3 separate regions of the Homo sapiens genome follow, and all the other regions are linked to region 2. Evidence: promoter capture Hi-C in human tissues and cell types (Jung and others, 2019). All regions are on one chromosome and are shown on one strand. The core of a region is centred on a gene start or on the middle of the fragment in contact, and the rest is flanking DNA. Distances in the headings are between cores, read along the strand shown.

Region 1 (4,953 bases), core at 1,706-4,205, 610 kb after region 2:
AAGGAGACACAGGTTAATAAAATAACTATACTAGAAAGATGATGCTATGGGAAGTGCTATTAGAAGCAACACAGAGCTGGGAATTGGCCTAGTGGTGGTGATGGTGGTAGTCAAGGAAGGCTTTCCTGAGGAGGTGTCATTTGGGCTGAACCCTGAGTGATGAGCAGATCACTCTGGGGTGAAGGTAGGGCAGGTTACATAGGACGCTGTAGGCCCTGAAAGGACACTTAGACTTTGTCCTAAGAACCTGGGGAAATAATTTTAGCAGTGGAGGGATGTGGCAAGAAAAGAAGGATTTTCTAAATTGAGTGGTCCCTACTGCTCTGCAGTGATGTCCTTGGCCCCAGGCAAGATCCCTAACCAAGAATGCTGATTCTGTCCTCTTTCCCAGGGCTCAAGATGACAGGAGTGGACTGTGTGGAGGGGATGGCCTCGGGCCTGTACCAGGAACTCTTTGCGGCTGTGGTCTCACTCATCAACAGGTAACGGGGCCTTTTCCTAGGCACACAGTTGGCCTCTTGCAGGTGCACAGATGAATTCACATACCGGGCAGTTGAACAAAGTGGCAGTTTTTGAGCTGGCGAGAGGGTTTCTAAGGTGGACAGTGCTGGGTTTAACTTCTACCTTGGCCACCCACTGGCTGTGAGGTCGGCAAATCAGTTCACTTCTCTGATCTCCCTTTCCTCGTCTGTACAATAGCTCTCTTCCCAAGGACTGTTGTGAGGATTAAAAGAAATAATGAATTTAAATAACTCTTCCTGGCCAAGCGTGGTGGCTCATGCCTGTAATCCCAGTACTTTGGGAGGCTGAAGTAGGAGGATCACCTGAGATCAGGAATTCAAGACCAGCCTGGCCAACATGACGAAAACCTGTCTCTACTAAAAATTACAAAAATTAGCTGGGCGTGGTGGTGGGCGCCTGTAATCCCAGCTACTCGGGAGGCTGAGGCAGGGAGAATTGCTTGAACCTGGGAAGCAGAGGTTTCAGTGAGCCGAGATCGCGCCACCACACTCTAGCCTGGGTGACAGAGCGAGACTCTCTCAAAACAAAACAAAATGAAACAAATTCTTCCTAACAGTGATTGTAAAAATGCCAATAATAAAATCTAAGTACTTTTGAGTGGCTACTGAGGGCCAGGGATTGCACTAATTGTGTAACCTGCTTTGCATCATTGAATACTCACATGGGCCCATTGTACAGAGGAGGAGACTAAAGCTTGAAGGGGTAGAACCGAGATGCAAACACAATGCCACCTTCTCATGTCATACCTTCAGTTCCCCTGAATAGCCCAATACATTGCTCTCATCCATTTATTTTTCAAAATTGTCTTGCTGGGGATGGGAGCAACATGGTAGAAATTTGGAGTGGGCTGGGGTGTGCCTCTGATGTGTGTCTGCGGGGCTGCAGGCACCAGGAGCCTCTGTTTTCCATCGTTACGCACAATGCACTGAGCCCATGCTTGGAAACCCTTTTAGCAGTTTTTTCAGCAGAGCTAATTCAGAGCCTAGGCAAAGGCTTGCCTTCCTCCTCTGTGAAAGCAGAAAGCATAATTAGGCTTCTGAAATCCTGTTAAAGGGATGAGGCTGGCGCGTAGCAACAGAGCAGCCGGGTTTCTCCAAGTTGTCGTGGACACAGAATCAACTCCCTCTGACGCTGCTGAAGTAATTACCATCTGAGCCCACAGACATATTATCTAGAAACCAAGGGGATCATGCGTGCTTAGAGAGGGAGTACTGGGAATGGGAAATGAACTGCTGGCGGAGGAAACTGCCTTCACCAGTGAAGGGCAGCTGCTTCAAGGTTTGGGTTCTCAGAGGCCACATCTGTGAAATGCCGCATGGATGATCAAAGTACCTACTACAGCATTTATAAGCACCTAGTAGGTGTCTGTCTTGCCAAGAATAAACCGACTTCATCTTCATGCATGTCTGTGTGGTGGCTGCTCTTATTATCCCCATTTTATAGTTGGAAAACCTTGGCAAACAACAGAAGAACCAAGGTTCAACTAAGGGCCTCCAAAGCTCCTAGCTGATCATACTCGTGGTGATGAGAGCAGGTGGCATTTACTGAGCACTAACCACATGGCAAACTTTGCTTTCACAGCCATGGAAGCTTATCACACCCAACCCTCACAACAGCCCTCTGAGCTAGTCACCATCATTAACTGAGACGGTGGCTAAGACGGTGGAGGCTCAGAGAGGTTGGGCAACTCTCCCAAGACACACATCCCCTCTGTCACAGAGCAAGGATTGAAGCCCACATGTGACTGGCTCCAAAATCTCTTAAGTCCTAAATTTTGATGTGAATAATCCCTGTTGTGTCCACCCCTACAGATTCATCAGGAGAATACAAGGAGGTGATAGCTTGAAAGAATTTTGTAAACTGATGTATTAAATAAAATAGTTTTTTGATTTTAATAGGCCTCTGAAGAAAGAAAAGGAGGGCCTAGGCTTCATATGGTAGCCAACTTCTGGGTGACCTTAAGCTAGTCATTTTTTTTTTTTTTTACTTTGGGCCAGTGGGAGGCAGTTTAATTCCTTTAGTCCTTATAGCTATCCCTGGGATAAGCCTACTCACCCCCATCCTCATTTAACAGTTGGGGAAACCCCTGCTCAGAGAGGTTAAGTAGCTTGCCTGAGGTCACACAGCCTGTAAGAGGTGAGCTTGGTTTTGAAACCAGTTCTGCTGGAGGCTTGGATCAGTGTGCTCCTAGATTCCATGCCATCTCAGACATTCCACCTCTCTCTTCTCTCCCTAGATCCTTTTCCTCCCACCATCTCTCCATGGCCTCCATCATGGTGGTGGACTCTCCAGGCTTCCAGAACCCCCGGCACCAGGGCAAGGACCGGGCGGCCACCTTTGAGGAGCTGTGCCACAACTACGCCCATGAGCGCCTGCAGCTGCTGTTCTACCAGCGGACCTTTGTCTCCACGCTACAGCGATATCAAGAGGTATGCCTGGGCTGGAGCAGGGCTTTCACCAGAGCTCCGTGGATGGTGTAAGGTCAGATGGGAAGGGGTGGGATTCCCATTCCCCAGGAGCCTGCAGCTTCACCCTGTTTGGTTCACCAGAGAACAAAGCCCTTTCCCCAGGCCTGGCTCCCCAGACCTCTGTTGCTCCCTCCACAGCCCAGCCTCCCCCTGCCACCTTCTGAACCCCGCAGCCCAGAAGCACCAAGGAACTCGGGCTTCCCCAGTCCTTGCTTCCACGGCTGTCCTTTCTTTGGGATGACTGCTTCATTCTCTCCCACTTCACTTAAGCAGAAGGCTCCTCCAAGAGTCAGTCTGCATCTGCCCAGGGGGGGAATGCCCTTTGAGTCCTGTGGGTGGGTGGCAGCAGTGGGCTCCACACCCCTCTGCAGCACAGCACGGTGAGTCTCACAAAGTTGAAGGTACATGCATCACAAAACCCAGCAATTCCTCTTCTAGGAGGCACCTGAGAGAAACTCTGTGTGTGAACCAGGAAGCATGTACAGGCATGATCCTGCCAGCCCTTCTTTTTTCATAAAAAAAAAAAAAAAGAGGTTAAGTTGAAATATAAGGCCAGGCACGGTGGCTCATGCCTTAATCCCAGCACTTTGGGAGCCCGAGGCGGGCGGATCACCTGAGGTCAGGAGTTCAAGACCAGCCTGACCAACGTGGCAAACCCCATCTCTACTAAAAATACAAAAATTAGCCAGACTCAGTGGCGCACGCCCATAATCCCAGCTACTCGAGAGGCTGAGGCAGGAGAATCGCTTGAACCCGGGAGGTGGAGGTCGTGGTGAGCTGAGATTGCGCCACTGCACTCCAGCCTGGGTGACAAAGAGAGACTCCATCTCAAAAAATAATAATAATAATATAAAATAAAATAAAATAAATAAAATTTACAAAGAAAAGTGCATAAACCAGAAGCATATAGCTCAGTGAATTTACCCAAATGAACATACGTGTGTCTCTATCACCCACGTGAAAATGAGAGTATTTTCAGTTCCCCATATGACTCCCACCTTCTTCCCTGAAGGTGTGACCACTTTTATTCCAATAAGTACCACTGGCAGAATATTAGAAATGGCCATATTGTTCACCAGTTGAATAATATAGAATAATAGGTATTGAAGTTCCAGTCATTTTTTTGGTTGGTAATAAAAATAAAGCACCAACATAAATGAATCTCAAACAGATGATGCTGATGAAACCTGAGGTCTGATCCTAACTCTGTCGCTTATTGGCTGTGTGGCCTTAGGAAAGGCACTCACCCTCTCTGACCCTCAATTTTTTTTTTTACGTGGAAAACAGAGATAATAATACTTTTGTATCAGTTATGATTTGCCATAATAATGCTGCGTAATAAACTACCCCCAAGTGTAGTGGCTTAGAAAAAAATCTTCGGTTGTTGCTCACAAGTGTCTGGATGGCCTGGGCAGCTCTCTTGGTCCAGGATGGTTCTTGAGCTTGTGTTCAGATTCAGGTGTAGGTTGGGGTAGATGGCTCTGATGATCTTGGCAGGGCTCGCTCATGCGTGGGATCAGCTGGCCATGAACGGATCTAGGCAGGCCTTGTCTGGGGTAACCTTGTCCCTGTTCCACAAATGTCCCATCCTCCAGCAGGCTAGCTTGGGCTGTCCTTGTAGTGCTGGGCAGGGTTCCAAGAGAGCAAACAGAAGCGTGCAGGGGACCTTGAGGCCTGGACTTGAGGCCTGCACAGAATCACTTCCACTGTGTTCGGTGAGTCACAACAGGTCTAAGGCTGAGCATGGATTCAAGGGGTAGGAAAACAGGCTCCACTTCTTGATGGAGGCACTGCAGTGTCACTCTGCAGAGAGTATAGATACAGGGAAGTGCAGAGAACCAGGGTTGTTTTAGATCATTGTTACCAGACTCCCCAAAGGGGCCGTTTTGAACATTTAATGAACAAGAATAAAGAGTGTAACAGCTATTTTATTTTTCCCATAATATTTCACTTATTTCTGATT
Region 2 (4,575 bases), core at 1,044-3,543:
TTGCTCTTGTTGCCTAGGTTGGAGTGCAATGCCATGATCTTGGCTCACTGCATCCTCTGCCTCGTGGGTTCAAGTGATTCTCCTGCCTCAGCCTCCCGAGTAGCTGGGATTACAGGCATGTGCCACCATGCCCGGCTAATTTTGTATTTTTAGTAGAGACGGGGTTTCTCCATGTTGCTCAGGCAGGTCTCGAGCTCCCAACCTCAGGTGATCCGCCTGGCTTGGCTTCCCAAAGTGCTGGGATTACAGGCGTGAGCCGCTGTGCCCGGCCAGCCCTGGGATTTTAAAACAAGTACCTACTATGCGTCAGGCACTGGGCTCTGGAGATACCATGGTAAACCAGGGGGACAACTTCTTTGCTTTTGTGGTGCTTATCTTCTCATTGGAAAGACAGAAAATAAATGAGTAACAGAATGTTGGGTAGTGATGAGTGCTGCAAAAGGAAAAGCCCAGCTAGGGGGCTGGGGCATGTGTGTGTAGTGTGTGTGCATGCGTGTGCATGCATATGTGCATTAAGAAAATGAGAGACAGGGGAAAGCAGGTATACTTGACCCAGTCTCCAAGCCTCAGATTGGATCAAGACACAGCCTGGGCTGCAAGGAAGGTGTGTGCACTAAAGAAACATGAGTAAAGGCCGGGCGCGGTGGCTCACGCCTGTAATCCCAGCACTTTGGGAGGCCGAGACGGGCGGATAATGAGGTCAGGAGATCGAGACCATCCTGGCTAACACAGTGAAACACCGTCTCTACTAAAAATACAAAAAATTAGCCGGGCGTGTTGGCGGGCGCCTGTAGTCCCAGCTACTAGGGAGGCTGAAGGAGGAGAATGGTGTGAACACGGGAGGCAGAGCTTGCAGTGAGCTGAGATCGTGCCACTGCACTCCAGCCTGGGCGACAGAGCGAGACTCCATCTCAAAAAAAAAAAAAATAGAAAAGAAATGTGAGTAAAGGCTGGGCACCCATGTGGCAGCGATGGGGCCAGTGGTAGGGATCTAAGAGCAACTCACTCTAGGACAGTGGTTAAGAAACAGGCCGGGTGCAGTGGCTCATGCCTGGAATCCCAGCACTTTAGGAGGCCAAGGTGGATGGATTGCCTGAGCTCAGGAGTTTGAGACCACCCTGGGCAACATGTCAAAACCCTGTCTCTAACAAGATACAGCAAAAAAAAGAATTTAGCTGGACCTGGTGGCGCACACCTGTAGTCCCAGCTACTGGTGAGGCTGAGGCAGGAGAATCGCTTGAACCTGGGAGGCAGAGGTTGCAGTGAGCCGAGATCACACCACTGCACTCCAGCCTGGGTGACAGAGTGAGATTCCATCTCAAAAGAAAGAAAGAGAAAGAAAGAAAGAGAGAGAGAGAGGGGGAGAGAGAGAGAGAGAGAGAGAGAGAGGGGAGAGAGAGAGAGAGAGAGAGAGAGAGAGAGAGAGAGAGAGAGAAGAAAGAAAGAAAGAAAGAAAGAAAGAAAGAAAGAAAGAAAGAAAGAAAGAAAGAAAGAGAAAGAAAGAAAGAAAGAAAAGAAAGAGAAACAGCCAGGGGCCTTGAGAATAAAATGCACTCTCCATAATTGGCCTCCCTGGCCCTGCAACATCAGGCCCTGCCCACCTTGGCCACCTGGCACAGGCCCTATTTGTCACATGTCATGCTTTAGCTTTGTTAACCTGTTTTCAGGTCTTCTTGAAATACACCATGCTGGTTCCTTGTATATGGACCCTTTCTGCTTGGAACTGTCCCCCCACCCTGTTCCCAGGCTTCCTCTTCTCCATCCCTGAGGGATGCGCTACCTCCCAGGAGCTTTTCTGAATGGCCTGGGCTGGCGTAGGTCCTCTTCCTGACACTCCCCTGGAACAGAGATTGTCACCAAGTGGATGCCCAACAAATATTTGTTGAATGAATAAATGGGTAGATGAATGAAGCCCAGACTCTGCCAAACCACCCTTCTTTACTTGTTCTTCCCCAGGCCCACTGAGATGTTCCTCTGTCTGCCATGCCTCACGGCCTGACTGACCGTACCAGTGAACCCAGCGTACCCCTGGCCCTGGCAGCCGGACGGCTGATGCATGCAAAGCGGGCATCTCCTTGCCCAGCCGCCTGACCGCCCTGGCGCGGCCGAATCTGAAAGCTAATGACATTATTGTGCAGAGACACAATGTCTGTGGGCATTTGCTGACCCGAGCTTTGGTGAGAGCTTAATCCAGCATTCTCACCCTGCTTTTCGCAGGAGCACAGCGGTCACTCATCTTGGCACCGGCACTTCTGGGGAAGGTATAAATGCCACCTCCCGCTGGCCGAGCTTCACGGCACTCGCAGGGGCTGGTGTCACTGGTAAGATTGCCTCTCTTGCTTGTCTTCCCTTCTTTCTCTCATCCTCACCCCTGTCCGCAAGCATGGGAGCACCCAGATTCTGACAAGTGACTTTGGGCAGAGACTTCAATGCTGTTAGCCTCAGTTTTCTTTTCTGGTAACTGGGAAGGGGGTTAAAAAGCCTTCTTTATTGTAAGGATTCAAGAGAAGTTAGGGGATCATCCAGCACAGTGCCTGGCACACAGTGGGCATTGGGGCAATGTTCTTTATTATTAATATTAAACAGACTATCAGCATCCTTGTTTCGCCAGTCGCTGAGGAGGAGAATGTAACTGAGGGTTTTGCAAGAATCAAACCAGTGACAGTTCAGCATTGTTTCTAGGTGGGTGAGTCAGTTTTCCTCCACATCTGCAATTAGGGGGCACCCACTCTGTGCCTAGCCTCTGGGAGTGCTAGGGGATAGGATGCAGCCACAGGTATGTGACAGGTCCCAGCAACAGGTGATTTCAATGCCACTAAAGCATGGTAGAAATGACTCTAATAATGCCACAATTGCTGCCATTTGCTGCATGCTGAGTGTGTTCTGGGACCACGGCCAAGTGCTTCCGGTTTTATACATTACATAATTGAATCCTCACAACCTGTTCACAGGTATTATTAGACATCATTACTGTCCCCATTTTATAGAACAGGAAGTTGAGGCATAGGGAGAGGATGAGACCTGCCCAGAGTCTCAATTCTGGCAGGCAGCAGAGACTGCTCCTGAACTGGACCAACTGAGCTTCTTCAGTCTGTGAACACTCAGGACTGGGAAGTGATATGGCAGGACCTCAGGCACTCTGACAAGCCCAGAGGGCTGGTTTCTTGCGGGAGAGCAGTAGATTTGGCTGCCAAGGTGCTTAACTGCATTTCTTCCTCCTGGGAAACATCCAGTATTGGCCTTTCATGTGGAAGGGGCTTCTGGAAGCTGGCGTTATCTCTGAAGAGGGAGGCCAGGCTTCCTCTCTTACCCCTGGGGAAACACAGCCTGGTTTGACCACCCCTTCTGCAGGAAGGGGGAAGAGGCTGACAATTTTCCAGGCTTTTCTGATGTTCTCACTAGCTAAGGCAGGTCTACCCTGCTGCCTGCCACAGTGCCTGGATTTCTACCGTCGCACCCATTTCTTCTCTTTCTTGTAATGTGGGTTCTGTATCAGATGATTTCACTAATGGGGGAGTAAAACCAGTGGCAGAGAAGAGAAATCTAGGTACCAGGATGGGGAGAGGAGTCCCAGGGAGAGGGTGGGAGAAGGAGCAGGGGAACAGGGAACTTTGTGAGTTCCTAAACTGGGCACCACCACACCACCAAATACAGCCAATGCATAGGTTTTGTTTGTTCCACACAATTTTATTTAAGAAATTACTGCATAAAGGCAGAAGTTCTGGGATTGACCATTCTATATTCTGTGTGGTATCCATTGTCTGGGGTTGAGTGTTGGGAACCCACTTTGGACCTCATTTAAGCTCTAGTTTATTACTGCTCTCTTTCTTTGAGTAGACCTCGTTTTTCCCTCCTCCTGCAGCTGGCCTGGATAGAAATAAATGAAGCTAAGGACAGAAGTTGAAGTAGCTGCTTACGGACCCCACAGCTCTGGGACAGTCTGAAACCAGGAGAAAAAGAGAATGTTTGGGGCCAGAGGGGAGTGGTCTCAAGGCCCCACAGAGTGAAAAAGCCAGTGGCCCCTCCAGGTCCTCACTGCTGCTTCCCATGTCTTCCAGGTCATTCCTGCACAGGACAGTCCACCATGGCCTCAGATCACCAGACCCAGGCGGGCAAGCCACAGTCCCTCAACCCCAAGGTGGGTACCTCTCAGAGGAGGGGGCATGCAATGCTCCTCCCCCAGACTTAGTTGCCCTTCTGTAAAATGGGCTTGGCATCTTTCTTCATGGGTACCCCCTCTCGACCCCTGCCCCTCTCTGGGACTCAGTCTCCTCTACCCACACAGTTGGAGCTGATACTGAAAGTCCCTCCCCAGCCCATAGCTGGCATGCTGGGATTCCCAGTACCAGCCTCTGGCTTTGGAGACTTCAGTTTCTCTCTCCCTTACCTGTTTTGCCACACCCTATTGTCTACAGGGCTCCCTGAAACTGGAGCAGACCCTCATTCTCAGTCAGAGATGGGATTAGTAGATGGAAGGTGGGTGTGAGTCCTGGCTCTGCACCTGCTGTGTGATCCGGGCCAATTATTTGATCCCTCTGAGCCTCAGTTCCATCTCTATAAAAGGAGGAGTCAGAT
Region 3 (4,435 bases), core at 1,910-4,409, 950 kb after region 2:
ACCCTGACACCAGAATCTAGGCAGGATGTGCCCTATTAGACAGACCACAACATCACTGCCATGGAAACAGTAAAAGGTAAAAGGTAAACCAAGTGTGTGATATCGAGCAAGTTACTTTGCCTCCCTGGCCCTCAGTTTCCTCATCTGTAAAATGGCTATCAAAATTGTGATTGCAGATTTTCATCTGCAAACTGTTCTAGTCCCTTTCAGAATTCTATTTCTATTATGCTATTTCTTCTTCCAAAAATAGTCTTGATACTGCTCCTAAATAATCACTTTATGTTCCCAACATCACAATCTCAGATAATCAGGTCTGTGTCTCATTTCCTCAAGACTTTTCTCTGTGCCTTGTTTTAGCCAGCAAATGGAATGAGTAAATCACGGTCCATATGTTCAATGGGTTAATGGTTTACAGTGTCACTTCTTCCACATAAGACACCTGCATGCAAGCAATGATCTAGAAGTTCAATGTACTTACCAAAGTGAGTAACCCCATTGATGGACTTTTAGTGATGTGGTCCTTCTGGTAGTGATGAGAGGTTGAAGCTTCAGCAGGTAGCAACCAAATCATAGCACAGAGGCAGCCACCAAATTTCTGGGAAGTAGGCTGTGAAGGTGAAATGGGTTCTGGCTCTGTAGTCAGGGCTGCCCTTGAATCTGCCAAATCCCACCGCTTCCTGACTGAGTGACCTTGGCTGGGTTGGGACCCCCCATAAAAAATCAGATACTTATCTTTCAGATGGCAATAACCACACCTCGTTTTCAGGAAGATTATGAAATTGAAATGAGAGACCATGCTCGGTGTGGGACAGCACCTGGCAAACAGTGGATTCTTTACACAATAGTTTCCTTCTCAGTTGGGTTGTTTGGTTTTTTTCCTGTAAATTTGTTTAAGTTCCTTATAGATGCTGGATATTAGACTTTTGCAGATGCATAGTTTGTAAAATTTTTCTCCCATTCTGTAGGTTGTCTGACATTACTGGGTATATACCCAAAGGAATATAAATTGTTCTATTATAAAGACACATGCCCATGTATGTTCATTGCAGCACTATTCACAAGAGCAAAGACATGGAATCAACCTAAATGCTCATCAATGAATGAGCATATATACGGTACATATACACCATGGAATACTATGCAGTCATAAAAAAGAATGAGATCATGTTCTTTGCAAAAACATGAATGGAGCTGGAGACCATTATCCTTAGCACACTAATGCAGGAACAGAAAACCAAATATCACAAGTTCTCACTTATAGGTGGGAGCTAAATGATGAGAGCACACAGACACATAGAGGGGAACAACACACACAGAGGCCTACCAGAGGGTGGAAGGCAGGAGGAGGGAGAGGATCAGAAAAAAATTACTATTGAGTACCAGGCTTAATACCTGGTTGGTGAAATCATCTGTACAACAAACTCCCATGACACAAGTTTGCACACATAACAAACCTGCACAAGTACCCCTGAACCTAGGAATTAAAAATAGTTTCCTTGCCTCCAAGTATGGAGCTAAACTACCTCTTCGTTTTTCTCTCGCTCGCTTTCTTCCCTTTCCCCTCCTCCTCCATCTTCCTTGCTTCTTTAGGTTTCCATTGAACAAGTCTCACTGAGCACCCGCTGCATGCCTGCATTATACTATACAGAGCCTGAGCGTATAGCCACAAACAGGCAAGGTCATTCCACAGAGAGCTGGCAGCCTCATACAGTAAAGCATGGAGTGCTTCATCTTCTCCAAAGGAGAAATCAGCACTCCTGCATCCCTGCCTCAGCCACCTTCTTTATAAAAGCCAGTTGGGTTTACTGCCAGGAATGGAAACCTCTTGCAGCTGAAGATAGGATTTTATGGGGGGGCTCTCTGTCCCCCAAAGCCTGAGGCAGGTCTGGGCCTATAGTCAGTGGCCTGTAAAAGAGCATTGTTTGAGTGAGTAAATGGGGAAGCTCTGGGTGTGGAGCGTCTTCTGAAACCCTGGGCCAGAGTGCTTCTCCTTCCCTCCTCCATCCAGTGTTCACCTCCCCCACCCATTCTTTCTAGGGACTCCCGGCTCCACCACGCTGCTAAAGACATATTCCTCCCCCTGTTGCTGCCTGCAACCTTCTCTCCATCTGCTCCCTCTGCCTGTTCAGGCTGCAGTGTGTAGATAGTATGGCAAGGTAGGGTAGGGGGAGGAGGACAGCTTCTAAATTGGGTGAGAGGCCTGTAAAGCCTGACCGGTCTGCCAAGGCTACGCAGGGAGAGACAGTCAGTCTCCAGGACTGTGCATAAGCTTGTCCCCACCTAGCTCTCTGCCAATGTCTGTCCCCAAGTATCTGTTTATCTCCCTCATTGATTGTCCCTCACTACCTCTATTTGTGGAGAAAAGACTTTGCTTGAGAATCAGGCCTGGGCAAGAATGCTGCAGAGGTGGGCCTTGTAGTCCTGCTCAGATAGGGAAGCGGGTACAGGAAGAGGCAAGCGGCTGACCTGAGAGGAAGCCTCGCAGCGCTAGTGCCCTGCCGGCAGTGGGGTTATGGGAGACAGGGCTCAGATTAAAAAGTGGAGGTGGATCTTAATTTAGAGTTCGTGATTGGGCTTCAGAGGGGTCCAGACCCCCTCGTGTTAGATGCACGATTTTGTGGCTATGTGTAGTGTTCTAGTAGATTCACAGCTGTCACCAGATCCACAGAGTTACAGACTTTCTAGGTTATGGGGACTCACTTTGGAAGCAGTGAGGCCCTGGCGGGGAAGCAGGCTGGCTGGATCCCAGAGGGCTCTGGAAAGAACTGGAACTGGGATGTATCTGGAAGGCTGGGCAGGCAATGGAAAGCTCCGGGCTGCTCATAAGCTCGGTTTCCAGGGCTCCATCTCACCGTCTGGAAAATGGTCCGGGTGCTCTCCAGCCTGGCCTGGCCAGGCAGAGCTGCTGGGAGCGTCAGCAGGGAGAGAAAACGCTCGGCTCCCAGGACGCAAGGGGAATTGGCGTTAAACTTTGCAGGGCCGACGGGCCGGCGGCCAGAGGAGGCGGCTGGCACCCCCGGCGCCGCCGCGGCCCCTCCAGCTCACTGCCCGCTCGCCCGCCCCCTCCCTCCCTGCACTCGCTCGGCACAGACTCGGCCCCAGCCCCCTCCCTCCTCCCGCTCGCTCCACGCTCGTTCGCTCGCTCGCCGGCTCCTCCTCACTCGCCCGCCCGCGCCCGGCGCAGCTCGGCCAGAGCGACCGCGGGGCTGAGCGCGCGTCCGCCCAGGGGGCTCCGGAAGCTGCCCCGGCCCGCGGCCTCCTCCCTCGCTCCCGCTTCCCCTTTCTCGCTCACCGCCGCCCTCCTTCCCCAGCTCCCTCGCCGTCCGCCCGCCCCACAGCCAGCGGCTCCGCGCCCCCTGCAGCCACGATGCCCGCGGCCCGGCCGCCCGCCGCGGGACTCCGCGGGATCTCGCTGTTCCTCGCTCTGCTCCTGGGGAGCCCGGCGGCAGCGCTGGAGCGAGGTAAGCGCCCCGAGGGGCGGGGCGGGCAGGGGGCAAAGTTGCCGGGAGAGCGGGGCAGCCAGGGGTCGGGGCTGACCAGGGCGACTCAGGCACCACCCGCCGGGATGGGAAGCGGTGGTGGCTGTCCAAAATCGGGGCTAGGAACCGCACGTCCCCTTGGCCCGGGCTGATGGGAGTGTGGAGGCGGGGATGTGTTGAAGGACTCGGGCGCTTCCCTGCTTCGGCTGCGGGCTCCCTTTCGGTCTTCCCCGGCTGCGGGGCTGATTCTCCTTTGCAGCCAAAGAGGTTCTCCTTGGAGTGGGGTCGCCTCCAAACCCCAAATTCCCGGCGCTTCTCTGCAACCGCACCCGGGGCTAGGTGCCAGATAATTATCTTCCTCTCCGGGAGAGGACAGGAAGGGGGGTGAGAAGCTGACCCACCCTGCAACTGAGGACTAGACTCAAACAGTGCATTTGCCGCTCCCCCCGACACCACAGAAACCCTTGACTCCTTTGGTTCAGGCTACCCCGAGGGTCTGTGTTCCTGGATCGATCTCAGCCAAGCGTCAGGATACCGGACTTGGGTGTGGCTTTCGCTAGAGGCCGGTGGAGGGGGCTGAGGGCTCTGAGAACTTGGTAGGGGAGGGAGAAGAGATGTTAGTTAGCAGTTGGGAACCTGAACGGGCTCCCCTCTACTCTCTCCCCTACTGCCTAGCATCTCTGATCACTGTTAGGAATGGGGGGTGAGGGGTGTTAGTTTCATCTACCACGTGTTTGTTGAAGGGGAAGAGGGGCCCAAATTTAGCAGAGAATGACAGCTCCTCTTTCTCAGACCTGGAACCATACCCTCTCTCCACCCCGGTAAGGTACCCCAGGAAAAGTTATGGGTGGGGGAGAGGGCCAGATAGAGAGAGGGGTGCAACGCCTAACTCACCCAAAGCTAACCCTCAGAGCTTCGGGGGTTTTCTCAGGCACCTAGGAGACCCGAAAATCAAT

The links. Contacts are between HindIII fragments. The study calls those that stand out against the background at their distance.
Region 1: a fragment that was not itself captured here is called in contact with the fragment with the promoter of CRYBB2 in region 2 in 3 of the 25 tissues and cell types used here (H1 embryonic stem cells, dorsolateral prefrontal cortex and spleen).
Region 3: a contact is called between the fragment with the promoter of SEZ6L here and the fragment with the promoter of CRYBB2 in region 2, in 2 of the 25 tissues and cell types used here (neural progenitor cells and spleen).

The regions. Positions count from the first base shown.
Region 1 is chr22:25,826,018-25,830,970 of GRCh38, forward strand. It overlaps MYO18B (myosin XVIIIB), which reads left to right. Exons shown (of 44, transcript NM_032608.7): 14 at 392-482; 15 at 2,759-2,951. Among named protein-coding and RNA genes, the nearest start is that of MYO18B-AS1, 71 kb to the right of the region's middle. The HindIII fragment of the contact is 4,920 bases long and covers 496-4,953 here.
Region 2 is chr22:25,217,346-25,221,920 of GRCh38, forward strand. CRYBB2 (crystallin beta B2) reads left to right here and starts at 2,294. Exons shown (of 6, transcript NM_000496.3): 1 at 2,294-2,321; 2 at 4,059-4,138. The coding sequence starts at 4,085. The HindIII fragment of the contact is 11,576 bases long and covers 1-4,575 here.
Region 3 is chr22:26,166,303-26,170,737 of GRCh38, forward strand. SEZ6L (seizure related 6 homolog like) reads left to right here and starts at 3,160. Exons shown (of 17, transcript NM_021115.5): 1 at 3,160-3,461. The coding sequence starts at 3,368. It overlaps LOC105372971 (a long non-coding RNA gene), which reads right to left and starts at 2,932. Exons shown (of 6, transcript NR_188586.1): 1 at 2,701-2,932; 2 at 479-627. RefSeq lists a silencer at 3,183-3,312 and an enhancer at 4,139-4,435. The HindIII fragment of the contact is 7,592 bases long and covers 1,408-4,435 here.